5 separate regions of the Homo sapiens genome follow, and regions 1, 2, 3 and 5 are each linked to region 4. The links are contacts of gene promoters, found by promoter capture Hi-C in blood cells and fetal thymus (Javierre and others, 2016). All regions are on one chromosome and are shown on one strand. Each heading gives the region's core, a stretch centred on a gene start or on the middle of the fragment in contact. The rest is flanking DNA. Distances are from core to core; before and after follow the strand shown.

Region 1 (2,700 bases), core at 137-2,636, 260 kb before region 4:
GAGGAGAGGTGAGTCTCAGTTGCCTCACCTGAGAAATGGGGACACCCTCCTGCCTTCCTCAGAGAGCAGCAGTGCAGACCATGGGCAAACTGCAAAGTGCCACCAAATATGAGCTGTTTTATTTATGACCTGAGAAGCCCAGAGGCTGTTGAAATGAGGGGAGGCTACTGTTGGGCACAATTGGTTTTAAAGATGCTTACAGCCCCGTTATCACCTCATAAAATGGCTCATTTCTTGCTACTCATCACCAGAACACTCACCCAGGCATGAAAAAGTTACCTTCAGAGGTAGAAGCTGTCAGGATGGATATTTTTTGTGCATGGCAACTGGGAAAGAGAAAAAGCAAATAATGGGGCCAAATAGTGCTCACCGGGGTCTCCACGCAAGATTCCAGACACTGCTCTCCCAGAGGGAACCCCAGTGATCCTGTGCCTCAAAGCAAGGGCTCCTTGGAGAAAGCCACCAACCAGGGTCAGCTGTGCTCTCACTGCAAAATGAGCAACATGGGGGAGGGAGGAGAGAAGGATGGAGAAGAAGGACAGTCAGGGAAAGTGGAAAGAATGTGAGTTTGGAGTCAGATACACATGCGTTGGAATCGTGGTTCCTGTGTGGTCAGCAAATGACCTGACTCCTCTGAGCCACAGCTTCCTCATCTGCAGTGGACAGCGTGATAGCTATTTCCAAAGCTTTCTGTAAGAAACAAGCTGTTGAATGGGGGAATGCACACTGTGTGTGTGGCTGCGTATCACTGCATTTGCAATTAGTGGCACTGGGTTTTCCCCTGTTTAGTAGCAGACAGTTTTTCTTCAGCCCAAGGAGCCTGTGCCTTCCCGGCTTCATCAAACCGGTCGTCAGAACAGCAGTAACTTTCAGTGTTGTGAACATGGTCTGATATTCTTCCACGTGTGGCTGTGATATGCAGAACTGAAAGTAGGCTAGGACATGCCCTTAAGAGCAGCAGAAGTAGGAGGGGTGGGCCTGGTTCTCCTGGGCCACAGTGTGCACTTTCAGGCCCCATCTGCCTGGGTTCATGGTGGCAACGGGTGTGGCCTCTAGAATCAGACTGAGGTCTAAACTCTAGCTCAGCCAGTTAACTAACTGTGAAACTAATTTGGCCAAATAAATGTGTTTCTGAGGATTAAAACGTATATATCCACCTTGCAAATGTGTTGTAAGGATTAAATCAGATGCTGTCTATTAGGCAATTTGCAAGGTTAGCAAGATGCTTAGCACATAAAAAATAAATAATTATTGTTTTATTATTGTTGCTGTTTCCACCTGTTTCTATTCCTTTCCCTCTCTGATCATGGATTGCATCCCATTTCTCTTCCTGTGGGGAGGAGAGATGGTAGGGGCATCAGGCAAGTTGGCCAGGCTGACTCCACACTGAGGTCTGAGCCTCAGTGCTACCAGCAGCAAAGGAATGTTTAGGATGAGGAAATGGCTTGTGGTTCAGGACTGGAAGACAAAGTCAAAAAGTTAGGAAGAAAGGGGCAGGGGGATGTGACAGACTCTGGCCTTCTGCTGTGGGCACAGCTGGGATGTGTGGAGCTCTTCCTCATTGGGTGGCTGGCTCTGGAGTGCAGAGGAGGGTCAGCGTGGGGTAAGATTGGTTCAGACACCAGCCCCGACCCTAGACTCACAGTCTTACTTTCTGTTCTGCTCAGACCACCCTGTTTATCTCCTGGTATTGATGTAATTGCTGCCTCCAGAACAGATCTGTCCCAGATCTGTTTTCATTCCACATGAACCCGCTTCCCTCCAGACCTGACCTCAGCCCATGGCCTGTTAGGGGATATGCTCTTCCCATTTGGTACCAGTAACTGTGAGGTACAAGTACAGCTGTTGTATCCCCACAATATGCTTACAAAAGCAAAATGGAAGATGAATATGAGTGACCTGTAGTATCTTTGGGTTTTTTCCTATTTTAATTGGTATGTCTTTAGAAAAGTGTTGGCATCATCCAAATGAACCATGAACGATGGATGCCCTGAGACACTTTGTTTGAAAAGGGTCCTGTGGGAGCTGAGAAGGGGCTCTAAGTATTCTTGAAAGTTCCTGTCTGTGCCTTAGAGACTTGTTAAAATAAGCTTTTCATTTAAGTCTGAAGTGTGGGTTGCTTACTCTGAATTTAAGTCCTTCATTCTTCAGAATGTGAAATGCCCAGGGCCCTAGTGCCCCCATCCAAGCTACATAAGCCTTCCATCATATGCTCCCTGGGACTCAGAGCTTGGCTTTCAATGGAGGCAAGTTCTCCTGAGGCTTTGTGGGTTTGTACCTGCAACTGTGTGCTCCAGTCTCTGTACTCAGGCAGCGCAAGTCAATTCTGATATGAACTTACCCTGAATGTAAGTAAAAATAAGAATGATCAGTAATTTTTGTGGAGCACCTGCTATGTGCCAGGCACTTCATTGCCACATTACATGAGTTGTCATTTAGTCCCCCTAACAAGCACATGCAGAAGATCCTCTTTTTACCCTATTTCACAGATGAGAAAACTAAGAGAGGTCACAAGACTTGCCAAAAAACAGAGTTTGGCAGGGCACGGTGGCTCACACCTGTAATCCCAGCACTTTGGGAGGCCGAGGCGGGCAGATCACTTGAGCTCAGGAGTTTAAGACCAACATGGGCAATGTGGCGAAACCCCATCTCTACAAAAATACAAAAATTAGCCATGAGTAGTGGTGCACACCTGTAGTC
Region 2 (2,700 bases), core at 11-2,510, 500 kb after region 4:
TCATTCTTAATCCTCTAAGTGATTTTGTGTAATTTTCACTTCATATACTTCATTTTTCTTCTCTTGCAGTTCCACTCAGTTTCATTTTTTAAATCTTCCATTTTTCTCCTCATTACATTCATGTTTTTATTTAAATTCTTAAGCATATTAAACACATTTTTAAAGTGATTTTTATCTTTCTTGCTACTAATTCCACCTTATTATTTCTGTATCTGTTTCTATGGAATTATTTTTTTATTTGGGTACATTTTCTTCTATTTTTGCATATCTATCAATTTTTGATTGAATGTTAAACATTGTAAACATTTTATTGTTAAGTGCTGGATTTTGTTGTATTTCTTTAAAGGAAATTAATTTTGTTCCGGCAAGAAATTCAACTACTTGTGATTCAGTTTGATCTTTTCTAGGCTTGTTTTAAAACTTTTTTTGCGTTTTGAGGGTGTGTTTAAAGTCACTGTTCCTGTAGTACCAGTTTAGCTCCGGATAGGCTTCTTGTGGCGTCTCTAGTAAATTTCATATGCATTTAACTATATCATTCTGCCCTGGCTGGAAGGAACTTGAATAATTCTGGCTCTGAATAAGCTATGGATATTATTTGGCTTCTACTTCCTGGTAATTTTTCTTTTTCTACATGTTGTTATTTGTACAGTCTTGTTAAATTTTATGCTATTCATGGACAGATTATTATTCAGTCAAAGACTCAAAGGGACTCCCATTCAATTACCCAGAGCCCTTTTTTCTAAATAGTCATCCTCTCTGCAATATTCTACCTTGCAAAATCTAGTTGCCTGGGCCACCCTAAACTCTAATCTCTGTTTCCTCAACTCAGGGAAAACCCCTCATACTTCGATCAGCTTCCCTATATCTGCACTCATGGGCCATAAATTGTCTATAGGCTAAAATTGGAAGCTATTGTAGGATTCACCTATTTTCCTTCTGTCAGGGATCACAACCCTTTACTGAATTTGTCCAGTGTCCAAACACTTTTATTTTATGTATATTTGGCCAGCTTTCTAATTGTTCCCGGTTAGAGAGTACATCCATGTTCTTTTACTCCCTCTTGACTGTAAGCAAAACCTACAGTATTAAATAATAATCAGAATCTGTCATTGATGTTTCTCCATACATATTTGGGGGGGATGCTGTGTACCATTTTAATCTGATGATTTTGATTTACAGATTTTATTATTTCAAGGATTTTTTTCTGGATTCTATTTCTAAACAATTTTTGGGGGCATTCTATTTGTTGGGTTCACTATTTTTGGGACATCAAATATCCTCAATGTGAGATTTTCTTTCTCTGATTTCTATGTCTATTTTTTACCCCATTTGTTTTACTCTTTTTTCTATTAATTTATGATTATTGGATTAAACCTTCCAACTGTTTTTATTTAAGTATTGCTTTATATATCCTGTTCAGGTAATTTCTAGTTTATAGACAATGTTATTTTGACTTGTTTTTATTTCCTTAAGTTTGCAATTTCTATTTTTCTTTCAATTCTGTTACTTTGTTTTCCATTTAGACTTTAAGCTCTTGATTTACTGATTTCATATTTACTAAGTAGATCTATAAAGCTCAGAACTTGCAGGCAATTTGTTTCTATATTCTATGTTATGTTATTATCCGACTGGGTTATTTGACAGTTCTTGCTTACTTTCTGGATTATTTGCTTCCTGGGAATGAATTCTGTTTGATATCTCTCTCAATTTATTTGAGAATTGTTTTTCTTTTCTGATTGGAGGTCTAGATATTTCTTTCCACTCACTTTTCTGAAGGCAGTTTATACCTTGGGTCTTGACCTAAATGTTAGTTACTTAGAGAGGCTTTCTCTTATTCTCTTATCTAAATTAGGATTCCACTGTTATTCTCCATCTCTGAACCCTGGTCTTTTCCTTTATAGCATTTATTACAATGTGTGATTTTGATCACAATTTGAGAAAGAAAATTCCTTTTATCTTTGAGGTAATTTTTGCTCACACCCCAAAAGGTTTACCAGTGCCATCAAGGGTTGTTTTTTTTTTAGTTTTTAGCATTAGAAATTTCATCATAGTAACTTGCTATCTGGTGAATAAAAAAAATTACTGTGAAACTTTCAGAGAATTTTAAAGAAAAATAACTAGTTTATAAACAGCACAGATAATATAGCTTGCTTGGGGCATGAATAAATGTCTAAATGTCATTGGAAGATATTGATTTTCACAGCTAGTTTGTTTGATCCTTTCTATTAAAGTCCTTACCCAGTGCTAAATGATCAATACCACTTAAGAGTGTTCTCAGAACATCACAAAAAAAGATGATTAAAAGGACAAAAATGTATGGATAAAACAAAAATCTGATGCTCTTTTTGGTCCTGTCTGAAAATGATATTTTACTCTATGCCCCAAATCTACCCCATGCACATTCTGAAAATTTCTGACTTCATCTTTTCAGACTTTTTATTCTCTCTCTCTCTCTCATATATAGATAGCTATATAACTACTTTTTATTTTGTGCACTGTCATTGGCACAACTTAACTGTGGCCAGACAAAACATGTGAGGAATTTACATGCTTGAAACCAAAACATTATTATATTTTTGTGATATATCTAGAGCCAACTGAAAGGAATTAGAAAAAAACACCACAAAATTTAGTTGGGCAGAAAAGTGGTTAAATCCAACGTGGGTGTTTCAAAATACCATTTGTCCCAATTAACTCACT
Region 3 (2,700 bases), core at 73-2,572, 380 kb after region 4:
TTAAATTAATGGATGGGCACATAACTCAGAACCTACAGGACACAAAAAACAGTTTTCTGGGGGCATCTGAAAAATTCCCTCGCTCTCCCAGAAACGATCTAAGCTTGCTTTCTCTGTATGGAGGTGAGCAAAGCACATGTGCTCCATGAGCTAGCCTTAAGATAAAGCTGGTATCATCTGGAAGGCAAAATTCAGAGGTGGAAAGACACAGGATCTTTGATTACACCATGTAACATCTAAGCCATACGGACCCTAAAACTTCCACCCTTCCTCCAAATTCCCCTTTTATTGCTTAAGTGAACTTGCAAGGATTTTCTTTCCCTTGCAACTGGAAACATCTGAATATATCCAAGATGCAAACTCCTGATGTATAACACACAAACTTGAAACTGTTCAACAACTAAGTCCAAACTAAGGTTAAATCCATATTCTTAATAGAAGTCATTGTGTGCACTGACTCTGAGGCTGCAACTATTCATGAGCCATGTTACAAGAGCATGTACCTGTAATATAACAACTTTAGAAGAAATGATGATGTAAAAATAGCTATAAATGGGTCAATATACATTCCAGTTTGTTTAGGGCAGTCATAATTTACCCTTGTTGTCCTGACATAATTATGAATAGGACCCCATTCACTCTCAAGTGTCCCAGTTTACACAGTTACCCTGTCTCTAAAGCATGTTTTTGGATTTGAATATAATTATCTTTAGAAAAATAACACTAACCCATGGAAATGCCTAGAGACCTCTAAAAGATATAAGTGAATTCGATCTTTAATCCTTGTGATTGGTTTTAGAAAGAAGTGGTGCCAGGGAAAATGTGCCAACAAAGATTCAATAGCCATTTATCATTTTAAATTTTAAATATATTATTGTAATGTCCTATCTACTTAACTGCTATGAAGATGGACACTCAGGGTCACACAGACCCTCATTTATAAGAAGAATGACACAGTTCTTATGAAGACAGAGCAGGAAGCAAGATATGAAAGCACTGGCAGGCTCTACATTAAATACATATTTCTTCTACCATCTCCCACCATATCTAAAATACCTCTATAGTCCTAACTCATTTATTTGTGTTTTAATTTCTTCTGTAGTCCTCTATTAAACTGGACTGGTACCACACAGTTTATTAATGACAATACCTGATCAGAAGGGAGCTGGTTTCTGGAACCAAGGCCCCCCAGGACAGAAGGCAGATGGAGTCAAGAAGGGATGAAAGTACCTGGTACTAAACAAGATGCTCAGCTTAGGGCGTCCATGACCCTTCTTAGCATTTTAAGCAACACCCATCATTTGCACCTTTGTGTCTCTCAACAGAGAATTTTACCCCAGAAGTCATAAAATCTTGAAAAACAATCACGACTAGTGCTTGTTTCTGCTCTAGTACTATTTTAAGACACATCTGTGTTCATTTGGCTTTTTGATGCTGTGACTTTTATTCTAATACACACATTGATTTGATTAAACCAAGTTCAGGGATAAGGCAAATATACATTCTTGTTCCCGAAAACATCCCAGGCAGTTTCAGCGTCTTTCAGCACAGATGAGGTAGGGTTGGGGCTGCAATGTCATGCCTAACCTGGGCTTCAGATCTGGAACTAGTTCATGTGGAAAATGCAAATGAAACCTCTGAAGCAATGCTGTAAAAAACAAGAACATTTCCATCCGAGCCAAGTGTTCTCCAAGACAATGTCTTCTTCCTAAACAGAAAAAGCAGATACAATAATTTTTTAAACCCACAATCTTTACCAAAATTAATGTCTAATATTTGGATGTCATTCAGGAAATCTGGAATTTAAACAAAGAAAGAGGGAACTATGTTTATTAAAGGATTTTCTTAAATCTCAAAGAATAGAAATTGACACTTCAGCAAGCAGAACCCATTCATTTACCTCCTTTTGTTAGACCACGGACTTTTGTAAGACTTTAGTTCCATCTCCCACTTCCCTCCTATGCTGCAACAGAGCCTAAGATATGCCACAAAAGATCTAATTTGAGGTGAGACATTTTGCTCAAGAACAGTCCACTTCATTTCAACTAAGTGTGTATTCTTCTCCAGTGAAGGGGAAGAGTTTCTAGTCCATCTTCCATGGGTCTTGTGTACCTTTTCACAGAAGAAGCAATATTTTCCTAATTGAAGATGAAGTACAATAACCAGAAGCCAAGAGAGTGAGATTCTAGTTTTACTTAAGTGACTATATCTTTTCCCTCTCTGGGTCTCAGTTTCTCAAGCTACCTGTTACTGAATTCTCATTCCACAAGTTTTGAAAAACAGATTTAGAAGAAGCCAGGGGTTCTCAAAAGTTCATCTATAGTTAATAAATTAAGGCTTATATTAAGCCGAAACAGATGTTAATTACTTCCAATTTAATCATTCTCTCCTGTTAGAATCAGTTCTGTGTTTTTAGAATTGGGATATTTAATTCTATAGAAGGATGCTTCAGATTAAGATGCTGTATCTAATGAATTATCATTATCCTTTATTCTAAAGTTACGCCCCGTGAAAGTTCTCTTACCTAGGGAAAAAGGAACCAAAGCTTCCTTCTTGGCAAAATATCCACTGCTGTCCAGAAATCGCTCAGGATGGAACACTTCTGGGTCTCTCCAGTACTTTTCATCAAAGTGTACAGAATAAAGATTTGTAATTACTGTTGTGCCTTTAGGAATGGAATAACCACGTACAACTGCATCT
Region 4 (2,700 bases), core at 29-2,528:
CCTGTTGCCTAGAGAAAATAATCAGCCACATTAATATATTGAAGTCTACAAAAATTATGACATTTTGAGGAATATCTAAACTATTACAATTTCTTTAGGTTTACTAAGATAAACTGAGATGTTCTATTTCAAACAACCAATATTTAAAGAAGTTCGCATTTTTAATAAAAGGTCTATCGAAGAGATCCTAGAAAAACTTTAGACAAAAATTAAGCATTTCTAATTATAAAGGAATATGAAATATGAGTTTTTTATTTTTGTTTTTTCTTTTTTCATTTCATTCTCAAAATAATATCGAAGTTTACCTAGATCATTTTTTAAGCTAATTTCAGATGGTGGTTCTGAATCCATTGGCACGTTAATTAACGTGTAGCATACGTTCTCAGCCGCCGTCATGGTTTCTGGTTATATTATAACCAATCCTTGACACAAGATTTAAGGATGCCAGAAAATCTAGAAAAATAAACACAGACATATCATTACAAATTAAAAAAAAAAAACCCACAAACAAGTACCTATAGTGACCTTTTAAAGTATTAGAAAGGGCAGGTCAATCTATATCGTGTTCCCATAAAAATAAATTCTAGTAAAAACCACATTATCAGCTCTGGCATAAGGTATATTATCTATCACTCCCTCATCGCATCCCGGTCCAGTGTTTGAGAATGCTGTATAGCCGAATGAAGGCCCACAGAACAGTGACAGTCCCCCCAGCCACACCCCACAATGTTATGGACCGTATGGTTTTTACACAACACACAATCTGCATGCTCAAGTTAAGAGACCTTGTGCCTGAATACTCTGCCAAAACCCTAAAGCGCTTTATCGCGGTCCTTGGTGGGTTCCGACTCTATGTCCGCGGGTCCCTTAATCAACGCGCTGCACCCCCACCTCGCCCCACCCGCTTCCTCCTCCCCTTCCTCCAGCAAAGCAGCCCTAGGCCTGAAAGGGTACGCCTAGGGGTCTTGGGAGGGAAAAGACCCCCGGCCAATACAAAGGACGGGATGGAGCGTCCGACCCGGAGCTTCCTAGCCCTCCGCCCCCACCCCGACCCGCACCCCCACCCGTACCCCCACCCGGTCCCTTCTGCCAGGCCCAGACGCAAGCGGCCTAGTCGCTCCCCTTCCGCATCTTCCAGCTAGAAAGCCAGTTCTTCCGACTCTGCCCGACCCACCACGCCTCTGGGACTGGGGGCTTGTGGCCCACTACCAGGCTCCGAGGGGCAGTGGTTTGGTGCAGCCGCGGATCCGTCTACTGCGGCTCCGTCTACTCCGGCTATGAACCGCAGCAGCGGCGGCGGCGGCTCCAGAGTCCTTGGCTGACGTGGAAGGGGGTGGGGTAACGACCGAAGCCACAGCCACCTAGCACCTACGGCGACTCAGAGAGGACATGCTTTCTTTGTGCAGCGCTTGCGCGCTGCAAGTATATCCTATTTTCTTCCTCTTCTCTTGTCCAGGGTTTGATTAGGCCGCAGAGCAATGAAACCACGTATTTTCTAGTTTTCCCTGCAAGCCAAGCTCTGAGTTAAGCACTATGCTAATTTAAACGCTAACTGGAAATCGTTCCTTCTTCAGGAACAGTCAAGGGGAGAAAGTGCTTGGAGAGAGGGAAACTTTTACAGGGCTCTGTTCCCGTGAAAAAGAGCTCTGGACTAGAAAGTGGAAACCCAGTAATCCTTTTTCTTGTCCACACCCTAATAAACTGGGAAAGTAACTAATACTATTGGGAAGGTAATTCAGTTATTTTATTAATTATCACTAGATTAAAATCCATTTCAGTTCTTAACATCGCTAGTAGTTTGAATCTGCCTCTCTGCAGGTAGGGCTGGAGTTATTTGAAAATCCAAAGTCACATTGGTATAATTTCTGCTTTTTATTTAATAATGGCCTCTTTCCGTGATCCTTTCTGAGCACCCAGTAGATTAGAAAAAATTTTTATGCATAAAGGGAGACAGTCACTGTTTTAAAGGATTTTACGTATCTCCAAAGACCTGTTACAGCTGCAATCAGCCATAGTACTTTCGGTTTTGCCCATTTGAAGTTCCATAGCACGCCCCGCCCCTACACCTCCCTCTGCCCACAAAAGGGTTTTATGGCCAATTATTAATAACAAAATATCTTAAAGCTTAAGCAAAATACTGCGAATAAAAACAGATCTGACGGCAACTGCCCTAGTTAACAGGTTCATCTCAGGAAGATGGAACACCAATAGTACCTCATTTATGTAGGATCTAGCTCTTTTGAGCTTTCTCTTTTTAGAACCATCAAGCAATCTACAAATTCTTTGAGCACCCAAAATTGTATTCAAAGGCCATGTGTTGACAGCACTTTAAGAGTGCCTCTCTGATTCTGTGCATTCATTTTTTTTAATATTTAATCTTAATGGTAGAGTGACATGAATACAGAGATCCCATATACTCTTTACCTAGTTTCTCCCAATGGTAACATCTTGCATAGTTATAGTACAATATCAATTTCAGGAAATTGACAGACATAATTCACCCAGCCTTGTTCAGACTTCACTAGTTTTACATGTACTCGTTTTTATATTCACTTGTAGACAATTTTATCATGCTTATATGTGTGTAATCACCAACACAGTCGAGACAGAACAGTTCTATCACAAGGATTCTCATGCTGTCCTTTGATAGCCATAGCCACCTCCCACACTAACCTGTGGCAACCACTAATAATTCTCTAT
Region 5 (2,700 bases), core at 43-2,542, 420 kb after region 4:
CAAACCAGTAATCAATGAAATAGACAGAAAGCCACAGTGTTCAATTAGCCTTATGCAATCTCAAGATATTAAACTTTCAGTGCATCCAATCTTCCTGCTCCCCCGATCTGAGCTCCAAGAGCATGCATTCGTATGGTTGACAAGCCTGTGTTAAGCCCCCTGTGCCACGTATTTTGCCTGACATTAAGGACAGAGAGGTAAAGGATGCTCTCCTTGCCCTCTGAGAGCTTGAACTCATATCATTATGTGGTTCATATCAAGTTATGTTATGGCTTGTAGTAAATATGTCTTATAGAAAGGCTTGGGTCTTACTCATATTTGTTCACTGTCTCTACCACAGTTATCAACTGTAACCACAGCAAAAGGTTTAAATACTGATATGGTTTAGATTTGTATCCCTGCCCAAAACTCATGTTGAATTGTAATACCCAGTGTTGGTGGTAGGACCTGGTGGGAGGTGATTGGATCATTGGATCATGGGGGCAGTTACTCATGAATGGTTTAACACCATCCGCCTTGGTACTGTTGTCACAACAGTGAATGAGTTCTCATGACATCTAGTTGTTTAAAAGCATGTAGCACTTCCTTCCCCTCTCTCTTGCTCCTGCTCTCACCATGTGAGATGCCTTACCCTTTGCCTTCTGCCATGATTGGAAGCTTCCTGAGGCCTCCCCCGAAGCAGAAGCTGCTATGCTTCCTGTAATGCCTGCAGAACCGTGAGCTAATTAAACCCCTTTTCTTATAATTACCAAGTTTTAGGTATTTCTTTATAGCAAGGCAAAAATGGACTAATACAAATGGTAATTTTCTTTCCAAAATATGGTCAGGGAATAAAAAGAAAAATGAGAATAGATGAAAAAGAATCAGAATTGTTGGACAAAAGAAGGCACTGATGTTTCCTGATTGCCTGCCACATGCCAAACTTTGTGCTAGGGGTTTTGTATGTGTTCTTTTGTTGAATCCTTCTTCCAATCCTGTGAGGCAGAAAGGAAGCTAAGACTTATAGAAGCTTTACAGAGGTCTAACATCTTCATTTGTTCTCTTCCATTCTCCCCATTGCAGCTGGGTTGTCTGGTCTGATCATTGATTTAACAGCCATCCATAGTTCACCATTACCCTGGGAATAAAGTTCAAAACGCTACACTGACTTTTAAGGAGCAATGGGACCTGGTACTTTCCTACGTCTCCAGCCTCATTTCTTGCCTTGCTTTCTCTTGCTCTCTTCTCTGTAGACATAGAACATTTACTTCAGTTTCTTGAGCACATTATGCCCTCTTTCATATCCTGGCCTTCCCACAGGCTGTTTTCTCTGCTTGGAATGCTTTTCCTTCCTGTCTTCTCAATAATGTTGAATGAATGAATAAATGAAAGGATACTGGAGAGAGTAAGGGTAGGAACCTGTTCAGGGGAAAGACTAGGCATAGATAAAGGGATTAGAGAGTTAATCATAAACCTGTGATAATAGACGCATTCTTTAAGGTTTAAGCTGGTCAAAGATGACCAGATCTTGGTTTCTTCTCTTTTATTAGCTGCTTCTCCTCCTTCGAACCTCACCATTGGTGCCACTTCCTCTAGGAAGCTTCTCTCACCCCCACAATGGTTAAATCCTCTTGCTGTATGCCCCACAGCTCTATGTATTTTTTGTCTATAACGCTTATCACAACAGACTAAAGCTGCTTGAGGACAGGGCCTTGTCTTTCTTGTTTGCTTCTCTATCCCCAGCACAGAGCAGTTGTTCTAAATATATTTGATCATTTGAATTATGAACAGTTAGGAACACATAGTTGGTTTGTGTTTCTCATTGGTTTTGTTGTTGTAGTTTTTGGACCATTAGTTTCTTTCATGCAGTGTTATCAGTGGTTAGCAATTTTAGAAATTCCCATTCTTCCAGAGTGAGTGCAACTGGTTAGGGAGTGGGGCTATTCTCAAATACAAAATGATACTCTCTAATTTATAACATAATTAAAAAGCAACTATTCTGAGTTTTCTAAATGTCCCTCTGGGCACAGACGCTGGGGACACATGTTTATTTTCCATTCTTTTACCTCAGCTCCCTCCCCTTTTTCCTTTGCCTGACTAATTCCTATATATTATGTCTCGGCAGAACCGTAACTTCAGACAGCATGCATCTAGACTATGTAGGTGGCAGTGGCATCTTAATGCGAGGCACAAGAGTACTTGACATATGATAGCTAGATAAATGATGTTGAATGAATGAGTGAGTGAGTGAGTAAATGAAGGGATGTTGTGGGGGAGATTCAGGGTAGGATCTTGTCAGGGGAAAGGTCAAGAGGAAAAAGTTAGGGAATTAATCACAAAGCTATAATAATAACTGTGTTCTTTGACATTAATCTATAATAATAGCTGTGTTCTTTGATGACTGCTATCAAAAGATGCAGCACATCTAGCACCCAGAACTTAAATCATAATTTTATATTTATATATTGTATATTATTCTCCAATAAAAGGAAGCAGGAATCCCTGGATAAATGGATGACTCTAAGGCTGGGGTAGGGAAAATACAAAGTAAATTTGGAGCATCTTATAGTGCCAGAAAGTAAGGAAGTGCTCAAGTGCCTCTAAATATGGGCTGCATTTACTGACTCTCATGTGACAAACAGTATATGGAAAAGGAAAAAATAGTAATTTTGGTAACAGGAAAAGCTGGCAGACACTACCTTAACCAAGTGATCAAGATTA

What was found. Contacts are between HindIII fragments. The CHiCAGO score rates a contact against its expected background, and 5 or more counts as called.
Region 1: a contact is called between a fragment that was not itself captured here and the fragment with the promoter of COPB1 in region 4, in 1 of 17 cell types (total B cells). The highest score is 5.4, in total B cells.
Region 2: a fragment that was not itself captured here is called in contact with the fragment with the promoter of COPB1 in region 4 in 4 of 17 cell types (naive CD4 T cells, fetal thymus, naive B cells and 1 more); the score reaches 5.6 in naive CD4 T cells.
Region 3: a fragment that was not itself captured here is called in contact with the fragment with the promoter of COPB1 in region 4 in 10 of 17 cell types (naive CD8 T cells, non-activated CD4 T cells, total CD8 T cells and 7 more); the score reaches 15.0 in naive CD8 T cells.
Region 5: a fragment that was not itself captured here is called in contact with the fragment with the promoter of COPB1 in region 4 in 3 of 17 cell types (neutrophils, non-activated CD4 T cells and naive B cells); the score reaches 6.7 in neutrophils.

The regions. Positions count from the first base shown.
Region 1 is chr11:14,236,908-14,239,607 of GRCh38, forward strand. All of the region lies in intron 6 of SPON1 (spondin 1), which reads left to right. Among named protein-coding and RNA genes, the nearest start is that of RRAS2, 120 kb to the right of the region's middle. RefSeq lists an enhancer at 664-713. The HindIII fragment of the contact is 1,404 bases long and covers 685-2,088 here.
Region 2 is chr11:15,000,931-15,003,630 of GRCh38, forward strand. No RefSeq gene overlaps it. Among named protein-coding and RNA genes, the nearest start is that of CALCA, 30 kb to the left of the region's middle. The HindIII fragment of the contact is 7,414 bases long and covers 1-2,700 here.
Region 3 is chr11:14,876,590-14,879,289 of GRCh38, forward strand. CYP2R1 (cytochrome P450 family 2 subfamily R member 1) reads right to left here. Exons shown (of 5, transcript NM_024514.5): 4 at 2,525-2,700; 5 at 851-1,708. The coding sequence ends at 1,533. It also overlaps a transcript of PDE3B not described here. Among named protein-coding and RNA genes, the nearest start is that of CYP2R1, 14 kb to the right of the region's middle. The HindIII fragment of the contact is 2,442 bases long and covers 102-2,543 here.
Region 4 is chr11:14,498,533-14,501,232 of GRCh38, forward strand. It overlaps COPB1 (coat protein complex I subunit beta 1), which reads right to left and starts at 1,279. Exons shown (of 22, transcript NM_001144061.2): 1 at 1,175-1,279; 2 at 306-453. The coding sequence starts at 396. RefSeq lists an enhancer at 1,401-1,500. The HindIII fragment of the contact is 3,446 bases long and covers 1-2,122 here.
Region 5 is chr11:14,918,708-14,921,407 of GRCh38, forward strand. No RefSeq gene overlaps it. Among named protein-coding and RNA genes, the nearest start is that of CYP2R1, 28 kb to the left of the region's middle. The HindIII fragment of the contact is 570 bases long and covers 1,008-1,577 here.